Regions from separate parts of the Homo sapiens genome. Here region 1 is linked to region 2. The links are contacts of gene promoters, found by promoter capture Hi-C in human tissues and cell types (Jung and others, 2019). All regions are on one chromosome and are shown on one strand. The core of a region is centred on a gene start or on the middle of the fragment in contact, and the rest is flanking DNA. Distances in the headings are between cores, read along the strand shown. Region 1 has its middle 42 kb from the start of LINC02812. Region 2 holds the start of DMRTB1 (DMRT like family B with proline rich C-terminal 1).

Region 1 (4,634 bases), core at 605-3,104, 50 kb before region 2:
TGTTTAAAAGATCCCTTCTCTGTTTCCTTCTCTCTAACCAGGTGATACCTGCTCCCTTCACCTTCTGCTGTGAGTGGAAGCTCCCTGAAGCTCTCACCAGAAGCAGATGCTGGCACCATGCTTCTTGTACAGTTTGAGGAACCATGAGTTAAATAAACCTCTTTTCTTTATAAATCACCCAGCCTTGACTATTCCTTCATAGAAATGGAAGCAGACTAAGACAGAGGGAGATAGAGATGGTGTAGGTGCAGAAGAGAAGCTGGGAGAGCAAGGTGGGGAGGAGGAATGCATCTCTGTAGTCCCCATGGAGTGAGGGCCAAAGTCACTTGCTGAGGGGAGTGGGCAGGGGTTTGAGAGGGGAGTGAGGGTTGAATGGAGGTTGGGTGGAACAGGGAGATGACAGTTCTGAACAGTCTGGCAGTGCTGAGAACCCAGTGGCACTCAGTAGCCTGGGTAGGCATGGAGAAGGTGAGGCCATCAGACTGTCCCTGGGTAGGGTTTGCTGGGTGGGTGAGAGGCAAAACTGGGGCAGTGTCGGGGCGGAGTCTGGGCCCATGAGGAAAGGAGGGTGGGAGGCAGGACAGACTCACAGGCTATAAATTTTGCAGAATCTGAAGAAAGTCACAAATGAGACTCATCCCTTAAGTCTCCAGACAGTAACTATGGTGCCAGGATGACTCAGGCCCAATCTTTTTGGGGCTTCCCAGTCAACAGTAGCCTGACCCTAAAAGAGCTGCTCTAAGCATGGGCCCTGTACAGGGAACTGTGGAACAGTGGGCCTGTGAGGCAAGGTCCCTGGCCTGCACTACCCACCTGCCTTCCCGGGCAAGGCTGATGTGCTGCTGAGAGCTAGGTGACCCTATGAGGGGGCTAAGGGACCCCACTAGGGAGCTAGGTGACCCCAAAAGGGGGCCAGGGTACCCCACGAGGGAGCTAGTGGACCCCATGAGGGGGCTAAGGGACCCCACAAGGGGGCTAGGTGACCCCACGAGGGAGCTAGGCGACCCCATGGGGGAGCTAGGGGACCCCACAAGGGGGCTAGGTGACCCCATGAGGGGGCTAGGGGACCCCACGAGGGGGCTAGGTGGCCCCACGAGGGAGCTAGGGGACCCCACGAGGGAGCTAGGGAACCCCACGAGGGGGCTAAGGGACCCCATGAGGGAGCTAGGGGACCTCATGAGGGGGCTAGGTGAGCCCATGAGGAAGCTAGGGGACCCCAAACAGGGGGCTAGGGAATACCCTGAGGGAGCTAGGGGACCTCATGAGGGGGCTAAGGGACCCCACGAGGGAGCTAGGGGACCTCATGAGGGGGCTAGGGAATCCCCTGAGGGAGCTAGGGAACCCCACGAGGGGGCTAAAGGACCCCACGAGGGAGCTAGGGGACCTCATGAGGGGGCTAGGTGACCCCATGAGGGAGCTAGGGGACCCCAAACAGGGGGCTAGGGAATCCCCTGAGGGAGCTAGGGGACCTCATGAGAGGGCTAAGGGACCCCACGAGGGAGCTAGGGGACCTCATGAGGGGGCTAGGGAATCCCCTGAGGGAGCTAGGGTACCCCATGCAGGGGGCTATGGGACTCCACACAGGGGGCTAGGAGACCCCACAAGGGGGCTAGAGGACCCCACGAGAGGGCTACGTGACCCTATGAGGGGACTAGGGGACCCCACGAGGAGGCTAGGTGACCCCAGGAGTGGACTAGGTAACCCCAAGATGGGGCATAGGCTCTGCTGCAGGTCCCAGCTGGGAGTTTGAAGGCCGCTGGAGAGCTCACCTAAAGGAGAAATCCCCGTGCATTTGGGAGTCGGGGAAGGCCCCTCTCCCTAGTGACTTGTCTCTGTTTCTGATCTCTGTAGTCTCTGAAATGCCACATGGCTGGTCTTTTTAAAGATCCTGCCAACAAACAGAATCTAGTAAGGAGGACACCTGGAGCGTGCTGGCTGCCATGTCTGGTGCTCCCATGTGCTGCTTCTGTGCTGCATAATCACCTCTAAAGGTGAGCGCTGCCCTTCTCACCAGGCTGGGGAGAGGCTAGGGAGCTTGCCTGAGTGGCCGTGCTGGAATCTGAACCCACAACTGTCTGACCCTAGATCTGTGTTTGCCGAACAGGGAGACGCAGGGACCCCAGGAGACTCTCATAAGTCCTGTCGGGGCAGAAAAACACTGCTGCAGTTGGGCCACAGAGGTTTCAATGCAGGCACCAGATGCGTAACTCAGCCCTGATGTACCAGGTGTTAGGCTGGTTGGGCTTGGGGCCAGCACATGTAGCTACCCTCAAGGAACTTCCAGCATGAGAGGCAACCTCAGAGAAGTTTTCAGGAAACTGCTTTTATGGGGTTTAGACCCTTGGGAGAGGTGGCCCCCTAAACAACCTTCCAGTCGCTGGTAGAATGCTGCTTTTGTGCAGAAACATGCCCCAGGCAGATGCTCCGCTCTGTGACAGCATCTCTGCTGTTTGGCCATGCACACATCTGCCCACCCACTCTGCCGCTGACAACAGGATATGACAGATCTATGCTGGAGGGAATGTGAGACCGACAGGTCCCGGAGGAGACGAGGCACTCACGGTGGGGGCTGCTCCGCTCCTCCCGCTGGCCCCCTAGTGCTGCAGCTTGGGGACTTCCATCTGTGGCCGGCCGTGTCACTCCTTTCTAACCCAGCCTGGCAGGTGCTTTTGCTGAGGGGCTGTAGGATGAGGGTCTGTGTGCAATGCTGATTCATTTTTGTGGCAGGAGATTGATGAGATGTTTGAGGGTGACTGGACGCACTCCCTGGCTGCCTTCAGGAAAGGATCAAGCTGGTGGGAATGAATTCAATCGCTCCGACTTAGCAAAAGGTGTCTTGAGGCCTTTCCCTTCCTTTTTGCATCACTACTGGAGTCTTAAATCCTAAATTACTTTTCATTCGAAACAGATTTATTTTTAAAGTATTGGCCCATTGTCATTTCAAAAACTTTATTCACCATTGCATTTAAGGAGTTTGCCAGCTTCCTTCCAGCCGCAACTTTGGACTGCAGAAGATCTAGTGTGTTGCAAACCACCAGTTTTTGTTTTTAGAAGGACGGGTTTAATGTTCAGACTTTATCTAATTATGGATAATTATGATGTCTTGCTGAGAATTCACAGTGGGATATGGGCTCTGCAGAATAAGACAAACTGACTAACACGGTTCCCGCCTGGTCGATTTTGAGTCTAAATAGTCACATTTAGATTTCAGTAATGGCGTGGAACATGAAGAATTCTCTCACGCTGCGTGTGTGTGTGTGTGGCTGGTGGGGGAGAGCAGGGAGGAGTGTCACTAAAATGAAGGCTAAGCAAAAAAGTCCTTTCCTAGGCTGGCTGGTGGGCTTGGGGCCAGCACATGTAGCTACCCTCAAGGAACTTCCAGCATTAGAGGCAACCTTAGAGAAGTTTTCAGGAAACTGCTTTTATGGGGTTTAGACCCTTGGGAGAGGTGGCCCCCTAAACAACCTTCCAGTCGCTGGTAGAATGCTGCTTTTGTGCAGAAACATGCCCCAGGCAGATGCTCCGCTCTGTAACAGCATCTCTGCCATCTGGCCATGCACACAAAAAAGTGGAGGTAATCAATAATCTAAAAGGAGGTAAGAAAAGGAGAAATAAATTAATGAAAGGACTTAAAAAAAAACCTGAAAATGAGGCTTTGTTCATAACATGAGCAAAAAAGAACGTAAATCCTTCAATAAATGCTGCAACCACCGGCGTCGCAGGCCCCTGACTCTCATTCCTTAATGCAGCAAATATCGATCAGGTGCCCACTGTGTGCCAGATTCCACGCATGGCAATCTTTTTAAATCAGTAAACACCCCTACATGTCCAATTCTGTTGTTGTACATGTTACAATCACTGATTGATGACACTTTAAAAAAAAAAAAAAACTACAAACCTTAGGTCTGTAAAGGTTAGTATGCTTTTTCACTGAGTGACTCAAATCCTGAAGCACGCCCTGATAGGGCAGTTACCGTGGAAGAATGTATCACTTAGAATGAACCATGGCATTTGGCATTCTGTGTGTTTCTGATGTGGGCCACACACTCTCAAGAACCAGGGTGAAATACAAGAGGGACCCTGCCCAGACATAGGGGGTGAGAGGGCCAGGGCTGTGACTGGGAGCAAGTAAGATCCTGGATGGTGGAGATGGGTCAGGGAGTCAGTGGGCCTAGACTCAAGCCAAAACAGGGCACGCAAGCAGGGCAAGAGTTAGCAGCAGAGACACAGATGACCTGGAGATAAGGGCAGCCCCATTTAGGTCAGGTTTACAAGCAGCTTCCAGAGCCTCTGTAGGCAACAGATGGACCTCTGTTCAAACCCCAAGGTGAAGCTTGGCTCACAGCTCTGCCATTTCCCAGCCGTGTGACCTTGGGCTTGTTACTCAGTTTCTCTGTGCCGCAGTTTCTCATCTGTAAAAACAGCCATTTCTTCTCGGCCTGTTGTGAGGACTCAATGAGTTATACCATTTAAAGGATGGCAAAGCAGTCAGTAAATGTTAGGCATGGTGATTCAGAGGAGTGAAGTGGGCATTTTTCATCTCTTAACTTACCCAGCATCCAAATGTCTTTCCCTCTGTGGGGGTCCCTGTGGGAGGCAGGGCTTACCCTGCATGAAGGAGGCAGAAGGTGGGC
Region 2 (4,979 bases), core at 2,203-4,702:
TCTCAGCTCTTACGGAGGCCGAGGCCAGTGGATCACTTGAGCCCCTGGGCAACATAGTGAAACCCCACCTAAAAAAAAAAATACAAGAGTTAGCCTGGTGTGGTGGTGTGTGCCTGTTGTCCCAGCTACTCGGGAGGCTTAAGTGGGCAGGTAACCTGAGCCCAGAAGGCAGAGGTAGCAGTGAGCAGAGACCATGCCACTGCACTCCAGCCTGGGTTATGAAGCCAGACCCTGTCTCAAAAAACAAACAAACAAACAAACAAAACCCAGTTTAAAGAAATGTGTTTGTATATATATCTTTTTTTTAAAGCAGCAGTCTAAGAAGTAATTAGCCATCAACCTAAACAGAACAAAACTATTAATTTGCCTGAATTTCCAAGAATGAGATAAATAAAACTCTGTTGAAATTTACCTACGCAAATTGAGACTTTTGGGGGAAAGAAATAAACTAGTATTTTTCTTCGTAGATTTGTTTACTGTGTAAACCCTGCATCTTAAAACATGACTACTGATTAAATATATGGTTGTTTATTAACGTTCTCAAAGCACTATGCAAATTCACATCACCTTGGGTATATTTTGCCTCTGAAGCTATGAAGTGAATATGGAAGCATTTTGTAGTTAACAAGGCTAACGTATGTTAACTCAAATAGCTTGCTTTGAAGAAAATTTTCCTTTAAATTATTAATATTAATGAGAAAGTGAGAGCTTGGGTGGTCAAGCATGAAATATGAATGAGTAGTTTTCGTTTTTAGGCCTTATTATCCGATGTCACCTGATGTTCAAATTTAAATTTGATAATGCAGAAAATAACAATACAATTTGCAGTGTCATGAAACAATGCAGCTTGTGCCCCAGATTTTTCGACAGCAGTACTGAAACTATGATTTTTAAGTGACATTTTCAAAAGACAAGGTCAGTGAAAAACGCTATACATTTTTTATTGGGTAGAGTCAGAAAAAGAGCTTGCCTGTCCTTTAACTATTTTTTTATTTTTTTTTCGACAGGGACTTGCTTTGTCACCCAGGCTGGAGTGCAGTGGCACAAACACGGCTCACTGCAGCCTCGACGTTCTGGGCTCAAGCGATCCTCTTGAGTACAGGCACGCAAGTCACCATCCCTGGCTAATTTTTGTAGAGACATGTTTCGCCATGCTTCCCAGGCTGGTCTGGAACTCCTCAGCTCAAGCTATCCTCCTGCCGCGGCATCCTGAAGTGTTGGGATGATAGGCATGAGCCACTGCAACCGGCCACTAATCATATATATATATGATTCTTCTTGAGACAGAGTCTCGCTCTGTTGCCCAGGTTGGAGTGCAATGGCACGATCTCGGCTCACTGCAACCTCTGCCTCCCGGGTTCAACTGATTCTCCTGCCTCAGCCTCCCGAGTAGCTGGGACTACAGGCGCCCGCCACCATGGCCAGCTAATTTTTGTATTTTTTTTAAGTAGAGACGAGGTTTCACCATGTTAACCAGGCTGGTCTTGAACTTGTGACTTCCGGTGATCCACCTGCCTCAGCCTCCTAAAGTATTAGGATTACAGGCGTGAGCCACTGCACCCGGCCCACTAATCATATTTTTAAAATAAAAACTTAAGTGAGAGGTTGTTAGAGCAAAGCAGAAACAAACCTAGTCCTCCTTAAATGGATGCAGAGCAACCAGTGAAGTCCTAACAAGCCAAGTAACACAGGAAACTTTTTACTACTTTTACTTTCTTATTAAGATGATTTTTTTTAAAGCAGAAAAAGACTTTAAAACCTTTTTTCGCTTTCCAGATCTAATAAGCCCCCCAATGGTAACCATTTCCTATTCCCAGGCAGCTAGTGAGAAACGCAAGGTACAACTACAATCACGGACTCAGGAAAATCAAGGTGGACACCAGGCGTGGGCTTCTCCCATTCTACCAACAGAAAGAGAGAAATTCAAAGAAAGAGCAATGAAAAATGCACAAGTTTTAGCCACATATTAACTGTAACTACCTCCTTAAATGCGACTGATCTAATTAGAAGCTTTTCAGCTTGTTAGTGGCCCATTTTTTCCTTTTTTTGGACAAAGAAGGGAGGAGAGGGGAGGGGAGGGAAATGGAGGCAGTGGGGTGGTGGGGGGGAGGGGCGGGAGAGAGAGACAGAGAGAGAGAGAGAGAGAGAGAGAGAGAGAGAGAGATGCCTCAGGGTGTCACAAATTTGTTTTTAAAAAATGAATTAATGGCCGGACGCGGTGGCTCACGCCCGTAATCCCAGCACATTGGGAGGCCGAGGCCGGTGGATCACCTGAGATCGGGAGTTCAAGACCAGCCTGGCCAACATGGCGAAAACCCCGTCTCTACTAAAAATACAAAAATTAGCTGGGCATGGTGGCGGGCGCCTGTAATCCAAGCTACTCAGGAGGCTGAGGCAGGAGAATCGCTTGAACCTGGGAGGCGGAGGTTGCAGTGAGCCAAGATCCTGCCACTGCACTACAGCCTGGGTGACAAAGCAAGACTCTGTCTCAAAAAAAAAAAAAAAAACAAAAAAAAACAATTAATGCCCTCGGGTAAACTATGACGTTTGTGCTAACTTTTCAGATGTCCCAAGATTTGGGTTGTTTTACAAGGATAACGAAGTTCATGATGAGGTTAAGCAATCACTGAAGCTAGTGCTAGAAATTTTTTTTAATTTAATTTTTTAGAAAGAGGGGTCTTGCAGAATTTTTTATTTAATTTTTTAGAAAGAGGAGTCTCGCTATGTTGCTCAGGTTGGTCTCCAACTACTGGGCTCAAGTGATCCTCACGAGTAGCTAGGGCTACAGGCACAGGACACTATGCCAGGCTTAGTGCTACAATATTCTGTCTATTTTACTTTAAAATATTCTAAGTATGCTCACTTTGGAAGGCATCAACATCCAGAAATGCATTCCTACATCAAGACTCTCAAGAAACGGGAATTACTGTAAGGGCATACCCTTGAGCAACCATCACACTGCACTGAACTCTTGAGAATATTCTGGAATATCCTGGAAGCATCTCTGCAGGGCAGAGAAGTGAACTGCCACAGAAGGAGCAGCTTTGGGGAGAAGAAATACAGTTTGCCTCTTACAGTATTTTTCTACACCGAGAGCTACATTCCTCCCGAGTTTTAAATTTGTGGACCGTTGAATATCACTCCGCCTTTCATAAAGTTACAAATACCTTCCGTCGGTGGCGGGAACAGAGTTTGGAAAATTACATGCCTAAGACTTCAGATAAGCTAAATGACATACATGCAATAGCATCCCATGAAGAATTTATTCAACCCAATCCATTGCATCTAATTACCCAAAGCACAGAAACTCTCCAAACTGTGCACCCCCCAAAAGGAGGGAAAATGCAAGGTTCCTGCTGCAGTTCCCGGGACACACTGCGAGCCGCTTTGTTACAAGTGTATCCAATGTCCCCAGAACGAGGGACTTGTGGGGCGCGGCTCATCCCAGCGCCACTTGCTCTGCAGCTCCCAGAGGTGGTGGTTGTGTTACGAAGGCTGACCCTGCCAATGGCCGACAAAATGGTGCGCACCCCCAAGTGCTCGAGATGCAGGAACCATGGCTTCCTGGTGCCCGTCAAGGGACACGCGGGCAAATGCCGCTGGAAGCAGTGCCTCTGCGAGAAGTGCTACCTGATCTCCGAGCGCCAGAAGATCATGGCCGCGCAGAAGGTGCTCAAGACGCAGGCCGCCGAGGAGGAGCAGGAGGCGGCCCTGTGTGCGCAGGGGCCCAAGCAGGCCTCCGGGGCTGCGGCCGCCGCCCCCGCCCCCGTCCCCGTCCCGGCCGCGAGCCTCCGCCCGCTGTCCCCGGGGACTCCCTCCGGAGACGCCGACCCGGGACCCGAGGGCCGCGCGGCCGCTTGCTTCTTCGAGCAGCCCCCGCGGGGCCGGAACCCCGGCCCGAGAGCCCTCCAGCCGGTTCTGGGCGGCCGCAGCCACGTGGAGCCGAGCGAGCGAGCCGCCGTGGCGATGCCCAGCCTTGCGGGACCCCCTTTTGGGGCGGAGGCCGCAGGCAGTGGCTACCCTGGCCCCCTAGACCTGCGCAGGCCGATGCGGACCGTGCCCGGCCCACTGTTCACCGACTTTGGTAAGTCGTGGCCTTGGTCCCGCGGTCGACTCCCGGAGCTGGCAGCCCAGGCCAGCCCGGATGGGGAGCTGGCATAGGGGTTCGGGGTGGAGAGAAGTTTTTCCACGGGTAACGGACCTTCCGCTTTGAGAAACCCTTCTTCGAACAGGGATTTGGATTGGGTAACTTTTCGCAAAAAGGAAACGAGAAACAGAAAGGAATGGGCGGTTCAGAGGGCTTTTAACATTTAGCTGTAGTTTGTGCCATTCCGGCATGCAAGAACAAAATGGCGTCCAGTCGACTTAGCAGTGCTTCCTCCTCCGGGGGAGGCTTCGAGGAGCCGAGTCCTACTGCTCTTGCGCACCTCTTCCCGCCATTTCCTTGGGCTGGAGGCTCCTCCTCCAGAATAACAGAATTTTCCTGCCGGCACGTTAGCGCAAGGACGCCTGCGCACTCTTCCCTCCCGGTTCGCGGTCGGGAGGCTCCTCCCCTCAGCTCCGCCCTGGCCCAGTGCGCCTGCGCACCTCTTCCCTCCGTTTCCCCACGTGCAGGTGAGGGGAGCCTGCTTCTTTACTCCACACACGAGAACAGTTGGTCAGTAAAGATGTTGCCTTTCTTTTCTCCCTTCACCTTGTACATAAATTACATTGTTCCCTGTGCCTTGGAGCTTTTGGTATTGAAGTAGTTTCAAGTCACATGTACATTTGAAGCTTTAGAAGCCCCGGGGTTTGGTGCGGACGCGTTTTCCTGGTGTCTCCCCCGTGGTGGTGTGGTGGGACGGGCTCAGGCCGAGGCGGGGGCCCGGGTCACGCTGGACAAGCTCCTGCCCTCTGTGTGCCAGGGCACTGGTCCGGAGGCTCCCGCAGGCTCGTCCCGCCCCCCTGACTTTCCAGGAAAATCTAGGTCCCCAGGGAAC

The links. The method cuts DNA at HindIII sites, captures the fragments that hold promoters and counts their contacts. A contact is called where the count stands out against the background at its distance.
Region 1: a fragment that was not itself captured here is called in contact with the fragment with the promoter of DMRTB1 in region 2 in 1 of the 25 tissues and cell types used here (aorta).

The regions. Positions count from the first base shown.
Region 1 is chr1:53,407,751-53,412,384 of GRCh38, forward strand. No RefSeq gene overlaps it. Among named protein-coding and RNA genes, the nearest start is that of LINC02812, 42 kb to the left of the region's middle. RefSeq lists an enhancer at 722-1,317. The HindIII fragment of the contact is 6,842 bases long and covers 1-4,634 here.
Region 2 is chr1:53,455,947-53,460,925 of GRCh38, forward strand. It overlaps DMRTB1 (DMRT like family B with proline rich C-terminal 1), which reads left to right and starts at 3,453. Exons shown (of 4, transcript NM_033067.3): 1 at 3,453-4,084. The coding sequence starts at 3,508. The HindIII fragment of the contact is 5,631 bases long and covers 338-4,979 here.